Linked DNA regions of Homo sapiens: regions 2 and 3 are each linked to region 1. The links are contacts of gene promoters, found by promoter capture Hi-C in blood cells and fetal thymus (Javierre and others, 2016). All regions are on one chromosome and are shown on one strand. Each heading gives the region's core, a stretch centred on a gene start or on the middle of the fragment in contact. The rest is flanking DNA. Distances are from core to core; before and after follow the strand shown.

Region 1 (2,945 bases), core at 285-2,784:
CCTCAGGAGCGCTCCTCTAACTCCTTAGAAGTGCTTCCTGCTCTTTTTCCTCCAAAATCTGCTTCTGAGTTGGAATCAGGGCATATCATGGTGGAGCTGGGTCGGTCCCAGGCTTGGGAGAGGCCACAGGGAGAAGAAGCTGGAGATGGAGCAGGCCTGGTAGTCAAGGATGCACTAAAGCTGCCCTTCCAGAGCGAGGCTTCACCCCATCTGCACATGACAAGGCTGCCCTGCTCTGTCCTAGATTTGACCGCTTTCCTCTGCCAAGAAGAGGGGCTTGAGGGTGAGCATGGTCTGGGGCTCCTCTGCCTGCACCCCCAGGGACCAGCACGTGTGGAAAGAGAGCATGGATTTGTAGCTAGAGTCAGTGACTAGCTTTCGAGACTTGGACACATCACCTCTATAAGGATGGTGTGTGTGCTCTAAGCCTAGGTGTGTGAAGAACGGGGCGCTCTGTGTTTGTGGGTCTCTTGGGGGCATGTAGTGCCTGAATGACCCCTAAGCCCAAGCCACTGCATTTCCTCCCTAGGTGGGAGGTTTTAGGGTTAGGCCCTGTCTCCTGAAGCTTCTCTCTTCTTCCCCTCACCCTCCAAACTCAGCAGGGATTGTATCCTAGGGGACTGTTTGCTTCTCCACTCACCTGTGCCTGCCCTGGGCGCTCCTGCTGGCCCGTGCCCTCCAGCGGGAAGGGGGCAGCTGGGAACACTGGACCCCCCGGGCTCTCCTCTTTCTCAACCTCTGCTCTTTGCTCTCTGTTCTTCCAAGAGGCTTTGAATCCCGCAAGCCGCTGAGCTGGAGACAGGGTTCTGCTCCTCTTTGTCCCGCTTCTTGGCTGAGCCTCGGTTTTCCCATCTCTAAAATGGGGAGCCCCTGCTATACTACCTTTGAAAGGCCAGAAAAATGTGTGTGTCTGACAGTTTGGCTGGGTGTCTGGGGTGGCTGGCCGAGCAAGGAGTTCTGAGGCCGGGGAGAGGAGGGGGACCGAGGTGCTCTCCTGCATCTGGTTCCTAGATCCTGGTGAACACCGCGCCGGAGCCAGGGAAGGCTCAACCCAGGCTTCGTTCACCCCAAGGCGCCCCACGCCGCCTGCTCCGCCGACCTCGGACCGGCCCCATTCGCGGCTGGGGAGGTGGCGCTGGAGCTCGGACCCGGGCCCAGCCCTCCTCTGCCCGGAGCCGCTGCCGCCCTCCCTGCCCAGGGCCCGGCCGGGCCGGGCGACACCTACCTCACCAGGATGGCCACCCCCACGTCCTCGCAGTTGGCATAGAGCCGGGCCCACATAGCCTGCACCGCCTTCCTCTCCGCCTCGGACAGCTCCTCGCTCCGCTCCCTGCGCTCGATCTCCATCTCGCCTGGCACTTTCTCCATGAGCAGCTCCAAGCCCAGCCCGGCTTTGCTCGGCGGCGGCGGTGGCGGGGCGCGGGGCGCGGGGCGCGGGGCGCCGGGAGCCGGGGCCGGCTGCGTGCGCGGCGGGCGGGCGAGGGGTAGAGCGCGGAGGGAGGGAGCGTGTGTCTGTGCGCGCCGGGTGTGTGTGTGTGTGTGCGTGCGTGTGTGCAGGGTATATGTGCGGGGGGCGGGGGACAGCCAGCGGTGGGGCGGGGATGTGGTCTGCTGGAAAATGTTTAAAAAAACAAATCCGCTCCAAACCCCCAGCCCCGTGTGGGTAAGAGCCAATGCCGGCAAGGTGAAGGCTGCGCGGGGTGGGGGCGACGCGACTGCCGCCCGCCCACCCGCAGGCCACGGCGGAGTTGCACCGCGGGGCGGGGCTCGGGTAGGTGTGGCCGGGGCGCTGGGGGTCCCGGGAGGAATGGGCGGTCACGCGGCGCTGGGCGGCGCGGGCCGCACAGGAGTGCGCTGGGGCGGGCGCGGGCCGGGAGCGCTGGGTTCCGGGTCCCAGTGCTTGCGGCGTCGCGAGTGTGCGCGTGCGGACCCTTCCCGCGGCGGGGAACTGACTCAAAGTCCAACACTCCCGAGCTTTCGCGGCGAGGCCGACCGCCAGCCCGCCCGTGGGGGCGAACAGGAGCCCCTCCGGCGGCCGCCGTGGACCTAGCTGGGCTCCCCTCGCCCGGGCCTCTCCCCGCGCCCCCGAGCCAGCCGCTGGGGGCCGCGGCGCCACTCCCACGGCTCTGGACGCCCAGGCTCTGGGGGGTTAGCACGGGGGTCGTCCCCCTGCCCGCCCACCGCCCCGGCTGTCGGAACTTGAGCGCACCTCCGACCTCGGGCGCCAGAGGCCTGCGCCCCCTCTCCTTCCGCCCAGCACCTCCATGCCCTCGGTGCACGAACGCGGCGGCGGCGGCCAGAAGTCCCCCGTGGCTTATGAATGACACGGACAGGCAAGAACCAGCCGCTGCCCTGAATTCTAGCCCAGCTGGTGGCGGAGGAAGTCCAGAGAGGCACCGGATAGGGCAGACAGGACCTGGCAGACAAAAAGTCTTGAGGAAGGCGCAGGCTGCTGGGGACATCTCAGCCGCCACCAAGGGCCCGATTCCGGGCCTGGGGGAGGCAAATCCTTCCTCCTGGTGGGCCCTATCCAGGGCAGTGTGAGATTGGGCCAGAGGTGGGGGGAGAATCCCATGGTGCCTGCCCTGCAGCGGCTGCTCAGTCCTGGGGACAGCCTGAGGCCAGACAGGGCCTGGCAGTGTTGGGAAGAGATGTCACTCAGGCTCCCGGCGACCCCTGTCCTCGCTCAAGACTTGATGTCCCATTGCCCAAGCATTGCTAAGGGTTGGCTCTGCGCTTTCACTATGGTTCATGTATTTATTCTTAAAATCCGACTTTAAGGTCCGGGGGAGGCGAGGAGAACTCACCCTGGCCAGCCTCAGCTGCAGCCTGGGCCCCTCCTGGGAGCTCAGGGTTCAGGTGCCTGGGGGACCCTGAGGCAGTGCCTCTGACACTGTCTCCCCCTTGTTGAGGGAATGAAAATCTAATGCCTCCTGGGGGTCTTG
Region 2 (2,945 bases), core at 305-2,804, 200 kb before region 1:
TTAGCCAGGCATGGTGGTGCATGCCTGTAATCCCAGTTACTCAGGAGGCTGAGGCAGGAGAATAGCTTGAACCTGGGAGGTGGAGGTTGTGGTGAGCCGAGATCATGCCATTGCACTCCAGCCTGGGCAACAAGAGTGAAACTCCATCTCAAAAAAAAAAAAAAAAAAAAAAAAAGAGCAATTTCCCATGAGGTTTTTATTTTCCATTTTTCCAAGGGATTCAACATCCTCCAGCCCAACGCTAAAGAAAGCTCCATACCTCACCCCTTATTGGTCAGAAAGGTGACAAAAGGGGCTTTGTCACATTGGCTTTACCCATTCACTGAGAGATACCGGACAAATTGGACACCAGGCAGTTACTTTGTGAACTAGCAGGGCGAAGGGAAATCGGCTGGCAGTCTCTGCTTTATCTGTTCCCTAAGAATGTTGCAAGTACACCCTGGCTAGCTCTTGTAGTCTTTATCTCTAAGTAGGACATTCTTAATTGTTTTACCAACTACTTTTCTTTCTTTTTTTTAAATAGAGAAAGGTCTCACCATGTTGCCCAGCTGGTCTTGTACTCCTGGGCTCAGGCAATCCTCCCGCCTTGGCCTCCCAAAGTGCTGGGAGTACAGCTTGAGCCATCATGCCCAGACAACCAACTACTTTTCTTTCCCCTAAGAAAACCACATCCTATATTAAGTCCAGCCCTTACTGCTCTAGCATTTTGGACAGGCAAAAACTAACCTGAGGTGTGCTCTCTTCAGCAGCACATATACTAAAATTGGAATGATACAGAGAAGATTAGCATGGCCCCTGTGCAAGGATGACACGCAAATTCGTGAAGTGTTCCATATTGGAAAACAACAACAACAACAACAACAACAAACTAACCTGAGATGAGGAAACAGGCATGGTATACGCATTCATTAAACTAGCCAGGCTCGCAAAAAGAGAAACCACACCACAGCTGGAAGTAATGGGGGAGAATTTACCCTGCTCCCAACTGTAACAATTAATCATCTGCAGCAGCTGGGAATTTTTTGTTGTTGTTTTGAGACTGAGTCACTCTGTCACCCAGGCTGGAAGGCGAGAGTGCAGTAGCACCATCTTGGCTCACTGCAACCTCTGCCTTCCGGGTTCAATCGATTCTCCCACCTCAGCCTTCCGAATATCTGGGATTACAGGCACCTGCCACCATGCCTGGTTAATTTTTTGTATTTTTAGTAGAGACGGGGTTTCACCATGTTGGCTAGTCTGGTCTCAAACTCCTGACCAACTGATCCACCTGCCTCGGCCTCCCAAAGTGCTGGGATTACAGGTGTGAGCCACCGTGCCCAGCTGTAAATGTTATTTTAATGAGTCTGCTTACTTTACATCAACACACTAGAACTTGTACATAAACATAAAAATTAACCTTTAAAATATACTTCATAAGCTTCATATTTTACTTAGTTCCATTGCTTGGTATATCTGGAAAATCTCTGAGTATCGCACAGTTCAATTACCCAAAATAATCATTTTGTTCTGAATGGCTTTTTGCCATTTCCAAAAATTAAACCTATCCTCAACGACCAAAAGGTTGCTATTATTAGAACAGTCAAAAGAAATATGCTGCAAGTTTGGAAGCAGTAGTTCCAAAGCTATTCCAAGCAAAAACAGCACCAAAAAAAGGTATCTATGTGATTTTAGAACAACAGCTCTGAAGGCAACTAAGCTTATTTTAATGTCTAAGCTTTGGTCTGTTTGCCTAAAATTAGCCTTATTACTTTAGGCAATGCCCCCTTCCTCCCAACAACAGAAAAACCTGTAAAAGATATTCCTTCATCTATGTAACCGCAGATAATATTAAAAAACCAGGTCGGGCACAGTGGCTCATGCCTGTAATCCTAACATTCTGGGAGGCTGAGGCAGGTGAATCACCTAAGGTCAGGAGTTCGAGACCAGCCTAGGCAACATGGAGAAACCCCATCTCTACTAAAAATACAAAAATTAGCTGGGTGTGGTGGTGTGCACCTGTAATCCCAGCTACTCAGGAAGCTGAGACAGGAGAATTGCTTGAACCCAGGAGGCAGAAGTTGCAGTAAGCCGAGATTGTGCCACTGCACTCCAACCTGGGCAACACAGCAAGACTCCGTCTCAAAAAATAAATAAAATAAAATATAAAATATAAAATAAAATAAAAAATTAGGCCAGGCATGGTGGCTCATGCCTGTAATCCCAGGACTTTGGGAGGCCGAGGTGGATGGATCACCTGAGGTCAGGGGTTCAAAACCAGCCTGGCCAACATGGTAAAACCCCATCTCTACTAAAAATACAAAATTAGCCAGGCATGGTGGTACATGCCAGTAATCCCAGCTACTCGGGAGGCTCAGGCAGGAGAATCACTTGAACCTGGAAAGTGGAGGTTGCAGTGAGCCAAGGTCACACCACTGCACTCCAGCCTGGGCAACAAGAAAGAAACTCGTCTCAAAAAAAAAATTAAATTAAATTAAATTATCTGTGTTCTTTAGTTGGTACTAAAGTATCCAGTACTCAAGCACTACAAAAACTAGTTTATTGACTGGGCACGGTGGCTCACGTCTATAATCTCAGCACTTTGGGAGGCCAAGGCGGGTGGATCACCTGAGGTCAGGAGTTTGAGACCATTCTGGTCAACACTGTGAAACCCCGTCTCTACTAAAAATACAAAAATCAGCTGGCTGTGGTGGCACACGCCTATAATCCCAGCTACTCAGGAGGCTGAGGCAGGAGAATTGCTTGAACCTGGGAGGCAGAGGTTGCAGTGAGCCGAGATCACGCCACTGCACTCCAGCCTGGGCAACACAGCAAGCCTCCGTCTCAAAAAAACAACAAAAAGAACCAGTTTATTGTGACAAACCTAATAACCTTCTTTATGGGCTGCACACCCACACAAAACAACACATCCAACCTGTCTTTTTTCCAAATTTTTCCTTTCTTCTTCC
Region 3 (2,945 bases), core at 325-2,824, 150 kb after region 1:
CAGCGGGTCGGAAGTGGCAAACCCAGAGGGGCCTTGAGCTCCTCTGAGTGACTTTTTGTTTGTTTGGTTTCTGTTTTTTTCTGAGTGTGTTTCTGAGACAGAGTTTTGGCTCTTGTTGCCCAGGCTGGCGTGCAGTGGCGCGATCTCGGCTCACTGCAACGTCTGCCTCCTGGGTTTAAGCGATTCTCCTGCCTCAGCCTCCCGAGTAGCTGGGATTACGGGCGCCCGCCACCCAAGCCCAGCTAATTTTTTTGTGTTTTCAGTAGAGATGGCATGTCACCATGTTGGCCGGGCTGGTCTCGAACCCCTGACCTCAGGTGATCCGCCTGCCTCGGCCTCCCAGAGTGTTGGGATTACAGGAGTGAGCCACTGTGCCTGGCCTGAGGGACTTCCTTGACTACACAAAATGCTGCCTGGGGGGAGCTGCGCAGGCAACACAGCGTCTTCCCTGTTGGGCACTTTGTACACACAGACTTAGTGCTATCTATGGCGAAGTGGTGCCTGTGTGTCCTGACGTTTCCCAAATTTTGCACAGCAAAGTATCTCTATGGCTGAGGTCGGAGTGGGCAGGCCTCTTCCGGGGGCAGGAAGAGGAGCCGCTCCATTTGACACAGCAAACCCACTTCTAGGGATCTGCTCCAGACTGGAGAAATGTCCATCAGGATTTTTATATAATGACTCTGACCGCGTGCAGTTGAAAAGACAGAACTGGGGACCGGGTGCGGTCGCTCACGCCTGTAATCCCAGAATTTTGGGAGGCCTAGGTGGGTGGATCAGCTGAGGTTGGGAATTCGAGACCAGCCTGGCCAACATGGCAAAACCCCGTCTCTACTAAAAATACAAAAAAAAATTAGCCGAGTGTTGTGGCAGGTGCCTTTAATCCCAGCTACTCAGGAGGTTGAGGCAGGAGAATCGCTTGAACCCGGGAGGTGGAGGTTGCAGTAAGCCAAGATTGCGCCATTGCACTCCAGCCTAGTGACACAGCAAGACTGCATCTTAAAAAAAGAAAAAAAAAAAAAAAGGAGGCGTTGATAGGTGCTGACATGAAAAGTACATCAAGATAAATCGAGGGAAAAATGCAAGCAGCAGCCCCACGTGAGCAGCGCAGTCATCTTGCTGTAAATGGCAAAGTGGAAATGCACGCATGTGCTCGAAAATGCAGAGAAAAGGTTTGTTTTTTGGAAGGGCCCACGAGAAACTGTCAGCAGTGGCTACCTCTTGGGAAAGGAGCTTGGGGGGCAGCTTTTCCTTTCCGTCTTATAGAGTTCAGTATAATTTGGACTTTCCATTAATATGCATGAATGACTAAATATATTTTTTAAATGCTAATGGTGTCTTTGGACAGTCAGATCCAAAGACCCCATTTTTTCTTTATTTATTTTCTTATATATTCTAAAAAAGAAAAAAAAAGTAAGAGGCCAGGTGTGGTGGCTCATGCCTGCAATCTCAGCACTTTGGGAGGCTGAGGTGGGAGGGCTGCTTGAGCCCAGAAGTTCAAGACCAGCCTGGCAACATAGTGCACACCTCGCCTCTACTGAAAATTTAAAAATTAGCTGTGCATGGTGGCACGCACCTGTGATCCCACCTACTTAGAAGGCTGAGGCAGAAGGATCACTTGGAAAAAAAAAAGTAGAAAGAATGTAACATCCTAAATATATATATATTTGGTTTCGGCCCCCAGTTCTTGACACAGTTTTTATTTTGTTTGTTTTTTGAGACAGGATCTTGCTCTGTTGCCCAGACTGGAGTGCAGTGGTGCAATCACGGCTCACTGCAGTCTTGACCTCCAGGGCTCAAGCGATCCTCCTGCCTCAGCCTCTGGAATAGCTGGGATCACAGGTGCATGCCACCATGCCCAGCCCTGACACTGAGCTCCTAAGTCCCTTGAATTTCCTAAGTTACAGGGGTGCTAGCAGCATGTTTTGTTCTAACATTTGGTTTTGATCCCAGTCCCTGGCACAGAGCTCCTAAGTCCGTTGGAATTTCCCGGGTGACAGGAGTGTCTTTTGTTCTAATGAGGTAACTCCTGGGTGGGCTGATCACCAGAGAGATCAAGCTGCAATGAGGAGCTTGGAACTTTCAGCCCCACCACCCCCCAGCTTCCTCCAGAGACTGGAGAGGAGCTGGAGATTGAGTTAAGAATCGATGACGCCTATGTGATGAGGCCTCCGTCAACATCCCGATAGGGTTTGGAGAGCTTCCAGGCTGCTGAATGCATTCCCGTGCGCAGGGGGTAGCGTACCCCAACTCCATGGGGACGGAAGCTCCTGCATTCAGGACCCTACTGGACCTTACTCTACTTAGGTACCTCCATCTGGCTGTTCATCTGTAGCCTTTATCACTTCCTTTCTAATAAACCAGTTAACATAAGTGCTTCCCTGAGCTCCGTAAGACGCTGTAGCAAATTACTCAACTTGAGGAGGGGTTCATGGAACCCTTGATTTGTAGGCAAGTAGGACCAAAGTGTGGGGAACGAGGGGACCTGATACTTGTGATTGGCCCCTGAAGTAGGGGGCAGTCTGTGGGACTGGGCCCTAACCTGTGGGGTCTGCACTGATTCCAGGCAGTTAATGTCAGAGTTGAACGGGAGGACACCCACTTGGTGTCTGGGTGGCTGGAGAAGGTGTTGGTTGCAGGGGTGGGGCTGGCTGCATATTTGGTATCAGAAGTGAAGGGTTCTGTGGAGTGTTGTGTGCATGGACAGAAAAACAGTTGGTTTTTCTCATGGTTGATGTCTCTCTTTAATGACAGGCAAACAGTCACTGACCTATTCAGGGCACGGCCCCGGAACTAAGCCCAATATCAAGAATAGACAGGAGGCCAGTTCTCCTATTATGTGCAAAGGACACAAAGATTAAATGAAAAACAACAGCAACAATGAGCACAGTCCCTGCCTTACGGAGCTCGTGGTCCAGTAGGAAAGACAAACAAATAATTGCACTCCA

Evidence for each region. The method cuts DNA at HindIII sites, captures the fragments that hold promoters and counts their contacts. A CHiCAGO score of 5 or more calls a contact.
Region 2: a fragment that was not itself captured here is called in contact with the fragment with the promoter of CYGB in region 1 in 1 of 17 cell types (total B cells); the score reaches 5.2 in total B cells.
Region 3: a contact is called between a fragment that was not itself captured here and the fragment with the promoter of CYGB in region 1, in 9 of 17 cell types (naive CD4 T cells, naive CD8 T cells, erythroblasts and 6 more). The highest score is 6.4, in naive CD4 T cells.

The regions. Positions count from the first base shown.
Region 1 is chr17:76,536,175-76,539,119 of GRCh38, forward strand. CYGB (cytoglobin) reads right to left here and starts at 1,535. Exons shown (of 4, transcript NM_134268.5): 1 at 1,226-1,535. The coding sequence starts at 1,368. It also overlaps a transcript of PRCD not described here. The HindIII fragment of the contact is 9,970 bases long and covers 564-2,945 here.
Region 2 is chr17:76,336,583-76,339,527 of GRCh38, forward strand. All of the region lies in intron 3 of PRPSAP1 (phosphoribosyl pyrophosphate synthetase associated protein 1), which reads right to left. It also overlaps the pseudogene RNU6-24P. Among named protein-coding and RNA genes, the nearest start is that of PRPSAP1, 16 kb to the right of the region's middle. The HindIII fragment of the contact is 279 bases long and covers 1,416-1,694 here.
Region 3 is chr17:76,689,012-76,691,956 of GRCh38, forward strand. All of the region lies in intron 1 of MXRA7 (matrix remodeling associated 7), which reads right to left. Among named protein-coding and RNA genes, the nearest start is that of MXRA7, 20 kb to the right of the region's middle. The HindIII fragment of the contact is 6,738 bases long and covers 1-2,945 here.